Regions from separate parts of the Homo sapiens genome. Here region 1 is linked to region 2. Evidence: promoter capture Hi-C in 16 types of primary human blood cells and fetal thymus (Javierre and others, 2016). All regions are on one chromosome and are shown on one strand. Each heading gives the region's core, a stretch centred on a gene start or on the middle of the fragment in contact. The rest is flanking DNA. Distances are from core to core; before and after follow the strand shown.

What was found. Contacts are between HindIII fragments. The CHiCAGO score rates a contact against its expected background, and 5 or more counts as called.
Region 1: a contact is called between a fragment that was not itself captured here and the fragment with the promoter of CABP7 in region 2, in 3 of 17 cell types (neutrophils, erythroblasts and total CD4 T cells). The highest score is 15.6, in neutrophils.

What each region holds. Positions count from the first base shown.
Region 1 is chr22:29,910,081-29,915,346 of GRCh38, forward strand. All of the region lies in intron 1 of MTMR3 (myotubularin related protein 3), which reads left to right. It also overlaps the pseudogene RNU5F-5P. Among named protein-coding and RNA genes, the nearest start is that of MTMR3, 30 kb to the left of the region's middle. RefSeq lists an enhancer at 2,503-3,485. The HindIII fragment of the contact is 7,942 bases long and covers 1-5,266 here.
Region 2 is chr22:29,718,306-29,723,487 of GRCh38, forward strand. CABP7 (calcium binding protein 7) reads left to right here and starts at 1,698. Exons shown (of 5, transcript NM_182527.3): 1 at 1,698-2,228. The coding sequence starts at 2,120. It overlaps CABP7-DT (CABP7 divergent transcript), which reads right to left and starts at 1,598. Exons shown (of 3, transcript NR_186695.1): 1 at 1,243-1,598. RefSeq lists an enhancer at 3,007-3,797. The HindIII fragment of the contact is 23,163 bases long and covers 1-5,182 here.

The DNA of each region.
Region 1 (5,266 bases), core at 824-3,323, 190 kb after region 2:
GTGAACCCAGGAGGCGGAGCTTGCAGTGAGCCGAGATTGTGCCACTGCACTCCAGCCTGGGTGACAGAACGAGACTCCATCTCAAAAAAAAAAAAGAAAGTGGGCCCTTTTCTGTGTTTTATAGGTACCCACACACCACTGAATGTAGGTCATCGTTTAAAATCTGAGTGTACATCCAAATCCAGTGCAGTTATGTAGAACAAAACAGTTTGTATGGAACTAGAAGTGTTACTGGAAAGGTAAATACTGTAGTTGGTAGTAAACTGATCAGTTAAAGTGATGGATCAGCAAAGATTTGGGGGTTGCTGGTTTTTATTTAACACTCAGTTGTTTCAGAGTGATTACTCCTGAAACAAAGTTATTTCGAACATAGATGTGTTAAGAAATTTCATATTCCTTTCCACTTAAACCTCTTGAGAAAGGAAGCATTTCTTCAGGGAGAGTTAGCTATGTGAGTGCTACATGAATTTTAGTCATTACTGTGGCGACTATATGATAACCAAAAGTAGGAGTCTCACACTTTAGTTTCAAATTTGTGCTGTTATTGAGTAAATTTTTAAAATGAGATTGCCCTCTTTCTTGCTAAACTGTCATATATATAAGCCCATTAAATTGACTTTTATGCCTCTTTTCCTTTTTTTTTTTTTTAACCTGTTAAGACTTTTTTTTTCTTTCTCATATTTACCCCTGCCTAAGCAAGGCCTCAACTCTCCACGGAAATCTTTAGTAAAAGGCAAAAAGATTTATTCATTATGAAGAGAAACCAGAGCATGTGTGACAGGACTTTCTGTAATTATAAGTTAGTGGTTCAGTGCCAGGGGTTAGATTTTCTTAACTTTTATGTTTAGTAGGATTATTGATAATTCCTAAGTTGTATCCTTAAATCATATTTTTTGAACATTAGGGATCTGCGTCCAACACTTAATTATACTAGTAAAAGGAATAGAACATGCACTGGATTTCTTGTTTTTGAGATTCTTTCATTCCTGCCCTACCCCAGGCAGGAGGTCTGTCTGCAGTGGAAGAGAATGAAACCAGAATGAGGCCAAACAAGTAAAGAGGAGCATGAGATAGAGATGGATCCCATGGCACTGTGCCTTTGAGGCCCTGGTCCTGAAGTTTTTTTCCTTGTTTCTACGCAGCATCTCATTATCCTGTGAGCCATTAAATTCTGATTTTTGGGCTGGGTGTGGTGGCTCGCACCTGTAATCACAGCACTTTGGGAGGCTGAGGCAAGACGATTGCTTGAGCCCAGGAGTTGGAGACCAGCCTGGGCAACGTAGGGAGACTTGTCTCTACAAAAAATAAAAAAATTAGCCAGGTGTGGTAGCACACGCCTGTGGTCCCAACTACTTGGGATGCTGACATGGGAGGGTCCCTTGAGTCTGGAAGGTCAAGGTTGCAGTGAGCCATGATCACGATACTGCAGTCCAGCCTGGGTGACAGAGTGAGACTGTGTCTCAAAAAATTTTTTTTTAATTTTGTGTAAAATAGCTTGATTTGGGTTTTTTTTTTTTTACTTACAACTGAGAATTTTGACCAGTATATTTAATGTTAGTCTGACCATTTCTCCAGTGGGCTTTCTACGTATTTAAAAAATAGTTTGGACTTTAATCTCAGGGTAAACAATATATATAGGTACACTCAGTTTATATATGAGATAATATTCAGGATCAGTGGAGTGAAAATAGTAAAGTATCTTCCATTTTTCAATGGCTTAGAGGGAAAAGTGTTCATAATGGGTATAGAATTAATCAGTATTCCTTTCCCATTATTTATGCCTATACAGTGTAGAAGTTTCCCTTAAAGAGCTTATCACCATAATAAGTACAATAGCAAAGATATAAAGTCAGTACTTTTCACTGATTAGGCATAAATATCCTCTTTATTGTTTTCTTACAAAGTAGCTATGATAAACATATAAAAGGGTCAGAAAGAGAGGGGAGAAAAACTCGGTGAAAAGTCAGACAAGAGGAAATGAAGAGGTGAGGTATGTATAGTAAGCATTAGTGAACTTGTAGTAATTGCTTTAGGTTTCATGGATTGCCCACTTGTGGATTAAATGTTAGACTTCTGCAAAATGAGTTGATGGTAGAGATGAAGAAAAGTCTTAATTTGTTTTTTTTATGCTAAGGTTAAAGTTGATGTGGCTAATTAGGTATTAAGATCAGTTTTCCTGTCTTTTTATTATTTATTTATGTTTATGAATGAATGAATGAAGAAATGAATGACAAAGTCTCGCTTTGTCACCCAGGCTGGAGTGCAGTGGCATGATCATAGCACACTGCTGCCTCAAACTCCTGGGCTCAAAGGATCCTCCTGCCTCCCAAGTAGCTGGGATTACAGGTGTGCGCTACCATGCCTGGCTAATTTTAAAATTTTTAGTAGAGATGGGTTCTCGCTATGTTGCCCAGGCTTATCTAGAACTCAAGCGATCCTCCTGTGTCAGCCTCCCAAAGTGCTAGGAGGATTGCAGGCATGGGCCACCAAACCTGGCCTTGTCTTGCTTTTTAATAAGCTGTTGTCATTATGTTGCCTTTCAAAGTCCAGTTCTTCTTTACCACCCCATTTGCCTGGAGGTAATGCATTAGGTGAGAATGAAAGGTGAGTACCTAAAAGATTCAGAATTGGAAGGCCTTAATAGGATCAATGTGTAGGAGCTGCAGAGAATATGAAGGACTTTTAAATATTCCAGTCCCAAAATAAACTTGACCATTGGCCAAGATTGTGGTAAGCTAAGTATTTGAGATGTCTGTGCTACATCATCCAACTCTTGGCCTGAACTGTTTTAGCTGGCTTGCCTATGTAAATTGAAACTTCCTTTAATACTTAACTGTGAGTTAAACATAGTTCTGGAGCTCCATCGAAAGGGTCTTAGTCAGCCAGGCACAGTGGCTTACACCTGTAATCCCAGCATTCTGGGAAGCCGAGGCGAGAGAATCACTTGTGAGGCCTGGAGTTTGAGACCAGCCTGGGCAACATTGCAAGACCCCCTCTACAAAATAATAATAATAATTATTATCCAGCTGTGGTGGTGCTCACCTATAGTCCCAGCTACTCAGGAAGCTGAGGTAGGAGAGTTGCTTGAGCCCAGGACATCAAGACAGCAGTGAGCCATGATTGCACCACTGCACTCTAGCCTGGGTAACAGCGAGACTCCCATCTCAAAACAAAAACAGAAACAAAGGGTCTTAGTTATACAGATCTTCTTAATCATTCCTAAAGCGTACATTCCAAGTTTATATTTACAGTAAAGTGATCTATATCCCAAAACATGTTTCCACTGGTTACTAATTTGGGGCAAGTCATTAACTTCTCAGAGCCTTCTGTAACTAAGATTTAGGGAAAATACTGGTCTTAACCAGAGCACATATGTATACCTTTGACTCTTTTTGCTGCCACATGGTTAAAAAATCAGCCTTAGAGAGGTATAATTTGCACAAATTTTGCCTTTTTTCTAGGATGTAATATAAATGAAATCATACAGGATATACTATTTTGTGCCTGTCCTCTTTCATTTTAGTATAATGCTTTGAGAATCATTCATATTGTTAAAAGCAGTAGTTGTTCCATTTAATTGCTAAGTAGTAGTCCATTGTATGGATATTCCACAATTCCTTTATTTACTAGTTAATGGATATTGGGGTTTTTTTTTTTTCCAGGTTTTGGGTTTATTTATTTATTTATTTGAGACGGAGTCTCGCTCTGTCGCCCAGGCTGGAGTGCGGTGGCGAGATCTCGGCTAACTGCAACCTCCGCCTCCTGGGTTAAAGCTATTCTCCTGCCTCAGCCTGCTGAGGAGCTGGGACTACAGGCTCATGCCACCGCACTCGGCTAATTTTTTGTATTTTTAGTAGAGACGGAGTTTCACCTTGTTAGCCGGGTTGGTCTGATCTCTTGAGCTCGTGATCCGCCCACCTCAACCTCCCAAAGTGCTGGGATTACAGGCATGAGCCACCACGCCCGGCCCAGTTTTTGGCTATTACGAATAAATCTCCTCTGAATATTTGCAACATAGATCTTTGTGTGGACATATATTTTCATTTCTCTTGGTTAAAAATCCAGGAGTAGAAATTGCAGGATTGTAGGGTAAGTGTGTTTATAGTTTTTAAAGTAACGGCCTATTTTGCATTCCCACTGGCAATGCATGAGAATTCCAGGGCTCCAAATCCTTGTTGATGCTTGGTATTGTCATTCTTACTAACTTAAGTCATTCTAGTGGGTCTGTAGCAATACATCATCATGGTTTTAGTTTGTAATTTCCAGATGACTAATGATGATTATCTTTTCATGTGCTTATTTGCCATTTATATGTCTTTGGTGAAGTGTCTGTTCAAATCTTTTGCTCATTAAAATAGGTTGTTTTTTGTTTATTGTGAGTTCATAATGTATTCTGAATATGAGTCCTTCATAACAGGTTTTGTAAATTACATGTTTTGCAAATATGTTCTTGTAATTTGTGGCTTGCCTTTTCATTCTTAACAGTGTCTTTCAGAGAGCAAAAACTTAATCTTTATGTAGTCAGTTATTTTTTTTTTCTTTTTGAGTTAATGATCTTTTTAAAAGCCTATCTAAGGAATTGTCTCTAAACCTAAGGTCACTAATATTTTCTTAAATTTTATTCTGGAAGTTTATAGCTTTGTTTGACATTTGGGTCTGTGAAACACTTCAAATTAATACTGAGAGAAGTAAGTGTAGGGTTGCCTTTTTGTATATACTGTGAATATCTGAGTTTTCCTCTGAGCAGTGCTTCAGTTGCAGCTCACAAAATGACATATTGTGTACTACTATTCAGTTTGAATATTTTCTAATTTCTCTTTTAATGTCTTTTTTGGCCTATGAATTATAAAAGTTTGATGTTTAACTTCCTGTAGATATTTTACTGTTACTAATTTAATTCCATTGTGGTCAGAGAACATACTCTATAGGATTTCAGTCTTTTTCAGGATTTCAGAATTTGAGATTTGTTTTGTGGTAAGGCATATGGTCTATTGTGGTGAATGTTTTGTGTCTTTGAAAAGACAAATATTTGGTTCTACCAGTTCTGTCTCATATATTTTGAAGTTCTGTTTTTAGGTACATACATATTTAGGATTGTTATGTCTTCTCAGTAAATTCATTCTTTTATAATGACTTGTCCCACTTTATTTTGATAATATTTGCCATCCCCCAGGCTACTTTAACATGAATATAACTCTTGTAGCTTTATTACCACAGTATTTGCATAATTTTTTCCCATCCTTTTACTTTTAGTCTGTGTATATAT
Region 2 (5,182 bases), core at 448-2,947:
TGTGGCACTGCCACCTTAACAGGCAGGGAAACTGAGGCTATGGCCGGTTAAGGGACCTGACTGTAGTTCCATGGTGAGGAGATGGTGGATGCAGAAGCCCCAGTCTGCCTGGCTCTTGGTGCTGGGTTCTTACTTCCTCAAGTCTCTGCTCCATCAAAAACACTGGGGAAGCTCAAGGCATTCAGCTCTAGCGGTGGAAGGTCAGAAGATGGGACAGGTGGGCAAGGAGAGCTTTGGAGTGGGGTGGGAGCTTTTCTGGGGCCTCTCTCACCTCCAGGCCCAGGTCCCAGTGGGCAACCAGCTAGCCCGGAGAGGTCTGGGGAGACAGACAGACAGCTGGTGTCCTTCCTGGCTCCTCCGCAGGTTATAGATGTTTCTAGGAGCTCCCTCCAGAGCAGGGCCCAGGAAGTGCTGGGCCCAGGCTGACCCAACCCCGCTTGGCTGGGGCTAGCATCTCTCACTGAGCCCCTTCTCCCCAGACCCTGAGACAAGGCTGCGATTAATCAGTAACAAAAACAGAAACAAGCAGAAAAGTGTAATCAGCTTGGGAAGGGCAGGGCAGGACCGGGCAGGGCTGTGCAATCAGCGTTCCTGCTGGGACCTTTAGCTGATTGGGCCAAAGGGGGCAGGGAGGTGGTCCCAGTAGGGGGATTCAGGGAAGCACCCAGAGATGGGGCCACAGCCAGGCCAGAAGGTCACCCCCTCCCATGCACATCTGTGCACCATATGCCCACACCACTCCCAGCCCCAGGGCCTGCACACCTCCCCCGACCTGCCAGCGTACAACCTTGGCACACACAGGTGGCCACACACTCCCGACATTTGTCCATCTGCATATGGAGTCACAGACACCTGCGCACGTGCCCAGTGGCACATACACACCCTCATGGATAGCAGACATATGCACACGCAGGCTGCTCCCTCAAACACCTGCCCCCACCCCAGCTCTGGGGTGCCGACGTGCCCTGGGGCCTGGGGAAGCCCTGCACATACATTAGGTCTGAGCTGCAGCCATGTGAACTGGCAGGCCCTCACACCAGACCCCACAGGCACCGGGCCATGTCTCTGTCCCGAACTGCCCTGGGGGCCATGAGACACTTTGGCTCCTCTTCTGCAAGCTGAAAGGTAGGGGCTTGGGAAGGGTCCGGGACTGGGGCCCCATTGTGGGGAGCAAGGTCAGCGGCAGGGTGTCAGTCACAGGCAGGGCAGGAAGCCTACCCCAGACGTGTACCCAGCTCTTACCTGCTGCTCCTGCCCTGTGACCTTGGTCAACGTCCTTCTCTCTCAGCCTCAGTTTCCCCACCTTGGATCCTCCTGGCACGGAAACGGTGACTCTTCTTGAGGACCCAGGTGCTTGGGGCCAGTCTCACCTCTCTGGGTCTACAGTTCTTAGTTCCGGGCTCTCCGCTCCTGGTGCGTGGATGGGGGAAGGTGAGCCAAGGGGCAGGAAGGAGGACCCCCGCAACCCACCCCCTCCCTGGTCCTGGTGGCTGCAGACTTAGGGTGAGGAGAGCCAGTGAACAGAGGGGAGCCCTAGTGGGAAAGGGGAATCGGGGCCGAAGGGGAGAAGGAGCCCCGGGCAGGTTTGGGGCGGCCGCTCAGGGGCCGGCGGCGGGAAGGGGCGGGCTGGGGGTGGGGAGCGCGGAGGGGGCGGGCGGGCGGCTGGCGGGGGAGGCGGGGAGCGCAGCCAGCGCGGCACAGAACGAGCGAGCGAGCGAGCGGAGAGGCGGCTACAGCCTGAGCGCCGGGCCGGTAGCGGCCGCGCCGGCGAGCGGACTAGCGGGCGGCGAGCAGCGCGGAGCGCGCGGGGCACCGAGGAGCGGGCGCGGCGGGCACCGCGCGAGGCAGCCGGAGCTCTCGGAAAGGCCAGAGCGGCGCCGCCCCCGCTGCCCCTGCGGGGCCCCGGCTGGGAGCCCGACGAGGGAGCGGGCGGCATGGCCCGGCGGCCCGGGGCGCGGGGGCGCTAGGCCCCCGGAGGGGCGTCCCCAGCCTCGCCGCTGCCGCCGCCGCCCTCCGCAGCCGCGCGCCCCGCCCGCTCCAGCCGCCCCCGGGGCCGCCACCGGCCCATGAGCCCCGGCCTCAAAGTTTGCGGCGGGCGGGCGGGCGCGGAGCCTCCAAGATGCCGTTCCACCCGGTGACGGCGGCGTTGATGTACCGGGGCATCTACACCGTGCCCAACCTGCTGTCGGAGCAGCGCCCGGTGGACATCCCGGAGGACGAGCTGGAGGGTGAGTGTCCGCCGGGATCCCCGCCCCGGCGGCCCTCCTACCTGTGCGCCCAGGTGAAGCGCGGGCCAGGGGCGCGGGGGCGGGGGGCGGGGGGCGGTCCGCAGGTGCCGGTTGCCAGGTGGGCGCCCCAGCTAGCAGCTGTGCCCCGCGGCAAGACCTGTCCGCACCCCGGGGCGCCGCGGTGGGGGTCGCTCAGGCGGAGAGCGGCCCAGCCCCTGCCCGCGTGGTCCCCAGCGCTGCGGAAACTTGCCGGGCCCCGCAGCGGGGTCACGGGGCCGCGCAGTCGGCGGTGACGGTGCGGCAACGCGGCGGACTGGGGCGGGGGTCCGCGCTGAGCCCCCAGCGCCGGCCCGGCCGGAGCACCCGCATCCTGATCCCCTCCGCGGCGCCCGCCCGCGGCTCTCTGCTCGCATTGACATTCCGCTCGTGTCGCTTTAAAAATTCAATCTGCTCGGGCAGCAGCAGAAGGGGAGAGGGCGACTGCCCTGCTCTTGCCCGCTGCGGGGCCGCCCCCGTCCCCACCTGCGGCCGTAGCCCCTTCCCTGCAGCCCTGCGGGGACCCCCAGCCCGGCGCGCCGGGAAGGCGGCCCGGGAGGCGGTGGCGACAACAAGTGGCCGGACTGGGCGGCTAAGTCGCGATAGCCAAGCCTGGAAGGGAAAGGCAGAGAGGCCAGGACCCAAACCCGCCCCCACCCCGTTCCCCCTGCCTCTCAGACTCGCAGGGGGATGGCAGGCCGCTGGCTGGGCGAGGTCAGAGCAGAGGGCAGGGGCAGGGGTCCGGGACAGTGTGTCCTGAGGAGCAGTGAGACCCCTGGGGCCCGCCCAGCTCCTTCCCTGCTGGGCTGGGGGAGGTGCTGAGGTTTCCCCTCCCCCCAGACCTCCTGGAGCCCCCATATGGAGTGGAGTGGGGGATCTGGGCTGATGGGGGTCACGGCCTCCTGGGATCTGCATGTCTGCTGTTGCAAGGGGCTGAGCTCACCCAGAGGATGGGCCTCTCGGGGTACCTTGGATCCAGGGGTCTCTGAGATCTGGAGGCTCATTAGGGCCTGGGAGGGTGCAGCCAAGACCAGCACAGTCAGGGAGGATGGTGGGAGCCCAGGGGAAGCCATGGAGGGAGGTCCTCCCTCAACCCAGGCCCAGGGTGAGGGCAGATCTTAGAGGAGTCAGAATGGGTCGGGGGAAGATCCAGAGAGAGAAGGCAGCCTCTGCCTCGCTCACTGCACCATAGGCATGAGCCACCAGGCTCCTCACCAACTGCCCCTGCAAACCCTCAGAAGCGGGGAGAGCTGTGGAGACAGGGTCTGGGGTCTGATGCGGACAGGACAGATGGATGATTGGGGCCCCCCGACATGACCTCACCATTCACCCCTAAAACCCAGGGCCAGAGCCTCCTCCAGAGCCCGGGGAAAGGAGGGGTACGATGGTGGGGGGCGAAAGGTCAGGAGATGGAGCATAGGCCTTCTCCTCCCCACCTTTGTCCCCTCCGGCCCTGGGCCACCTCAAACCTCCTGCAGATTTTTCCCTCCAGAGGCCCTCATCCATCCCCTCCTCCTGACCATCCAAGCAGGAGTCACCATGTCTCCCAGACCCCAGGCAGCTTCCGCTTCACTCCCTCCCCTTGCTCCCAGCACCCCCACCAGGACCCCACCACCCCAACTCCAGCCCTTTCTGGGTCCCTCCTCTCCTGATCCCCAGTCCTGGAGTGCACTCCCTGAGGAAGGGGAGAGGCTGAGAGGCTGGCTGCAGGGGCGAGGGGCCGCAGGGTGGGCAGTGCAGGGGCAAGGCCGCAGGCTCCCCAACCAACGACATGGCGTGCTGGCAGGAGCCCAGCTGCGTTAGTCACCAGCCACAACAAGTGCCCTCCCCGCTTCTCTCCTGTCCCCTTCTCCTGGGCCCTGGGGAGCTGAGGGGCCCTGACTCAGGGGGCATCTGAAGGGCAGGGCCCTCCCTGGGATGGGCAGGTGGGGTCATGGAGTAGACAGATGCCTGGGTGGTCCCAGCTCATCTCTGGCCCAGTGGGCAGCTACAGATGAAGGCAAGAAGTTTTCCATGACCAGCCCCCTTCTTGGCTGCAGGTGCCCTAAAAGCCCTCTGGCGGCCCCAGGTCCCTTTCAGCAGTCCTTGAATGCCAGGGCTGGCCATTCCTGGCACGGATCCCCCTCTGCCCTCTCCGCCTCTGCAGGGCCTCATGAGTGCTCCTGCCCCAGGGCGGTCTGGGCGAGACCCAGGCCCTCTGCCGGGAGGACGCCATTCGCGGAGGAGCCACATGTGCCAGGAAGAGGGAGCTGGGCAGCCCGGGATGGAATGCTGCAGACAGTACGTGCCTGCCGCAGAAATCCAGGGGGCGGTCAGTCTGAGCGGAAAGGAGGACCAGGCAGGGAGGTGGGAAGCACAGAGTTAAGATGAGGGCTTCCCAGCCAGGCGGCGCTGGGTTTGAGTCTCTGCACCTTCAGCTCATGGAGTGACCTTGGGCAATCGCTCACCTCTCTGAGCCTTGGTTTCCCCACCTATAAAAGGGGGGCTGGTGATGGAGGATGCAGTGAAAGTACCTACCTAGCACAGGGGGCTCAGGGACCCAGATGCAACATGAGGGGAGGCCCTGCGGGGGTAAGAGGCTGGAGCGTGCAGGGCCCAGGCCCGTGAGGGTGTGCAGGAGGCTGAGCCAGAAGGGCAGGCTGGCAGGGAGAGCTGGGTGGAAAAGGCCTTGAAGGTCTGGAAAAGGTCTCTGGGGACCTGTGGCCCTGGGGAGGCATGGAGGGCAGTTGGCAGGGTAGGAATGTGGCTGCACAGAGCTGGCCTGAGGCCCACCCAGGCCCTGTGAGGGACAGGCACGGACTCTCTTAGATCCCCTCTGTGTGCCCACCATGGCTGGGACATACACCTTTTCCAACATACACACACAGCAGAGTCCTCCAGGAACACTGAGGCTGGTCCCAGCACCATCAGCTGACTCG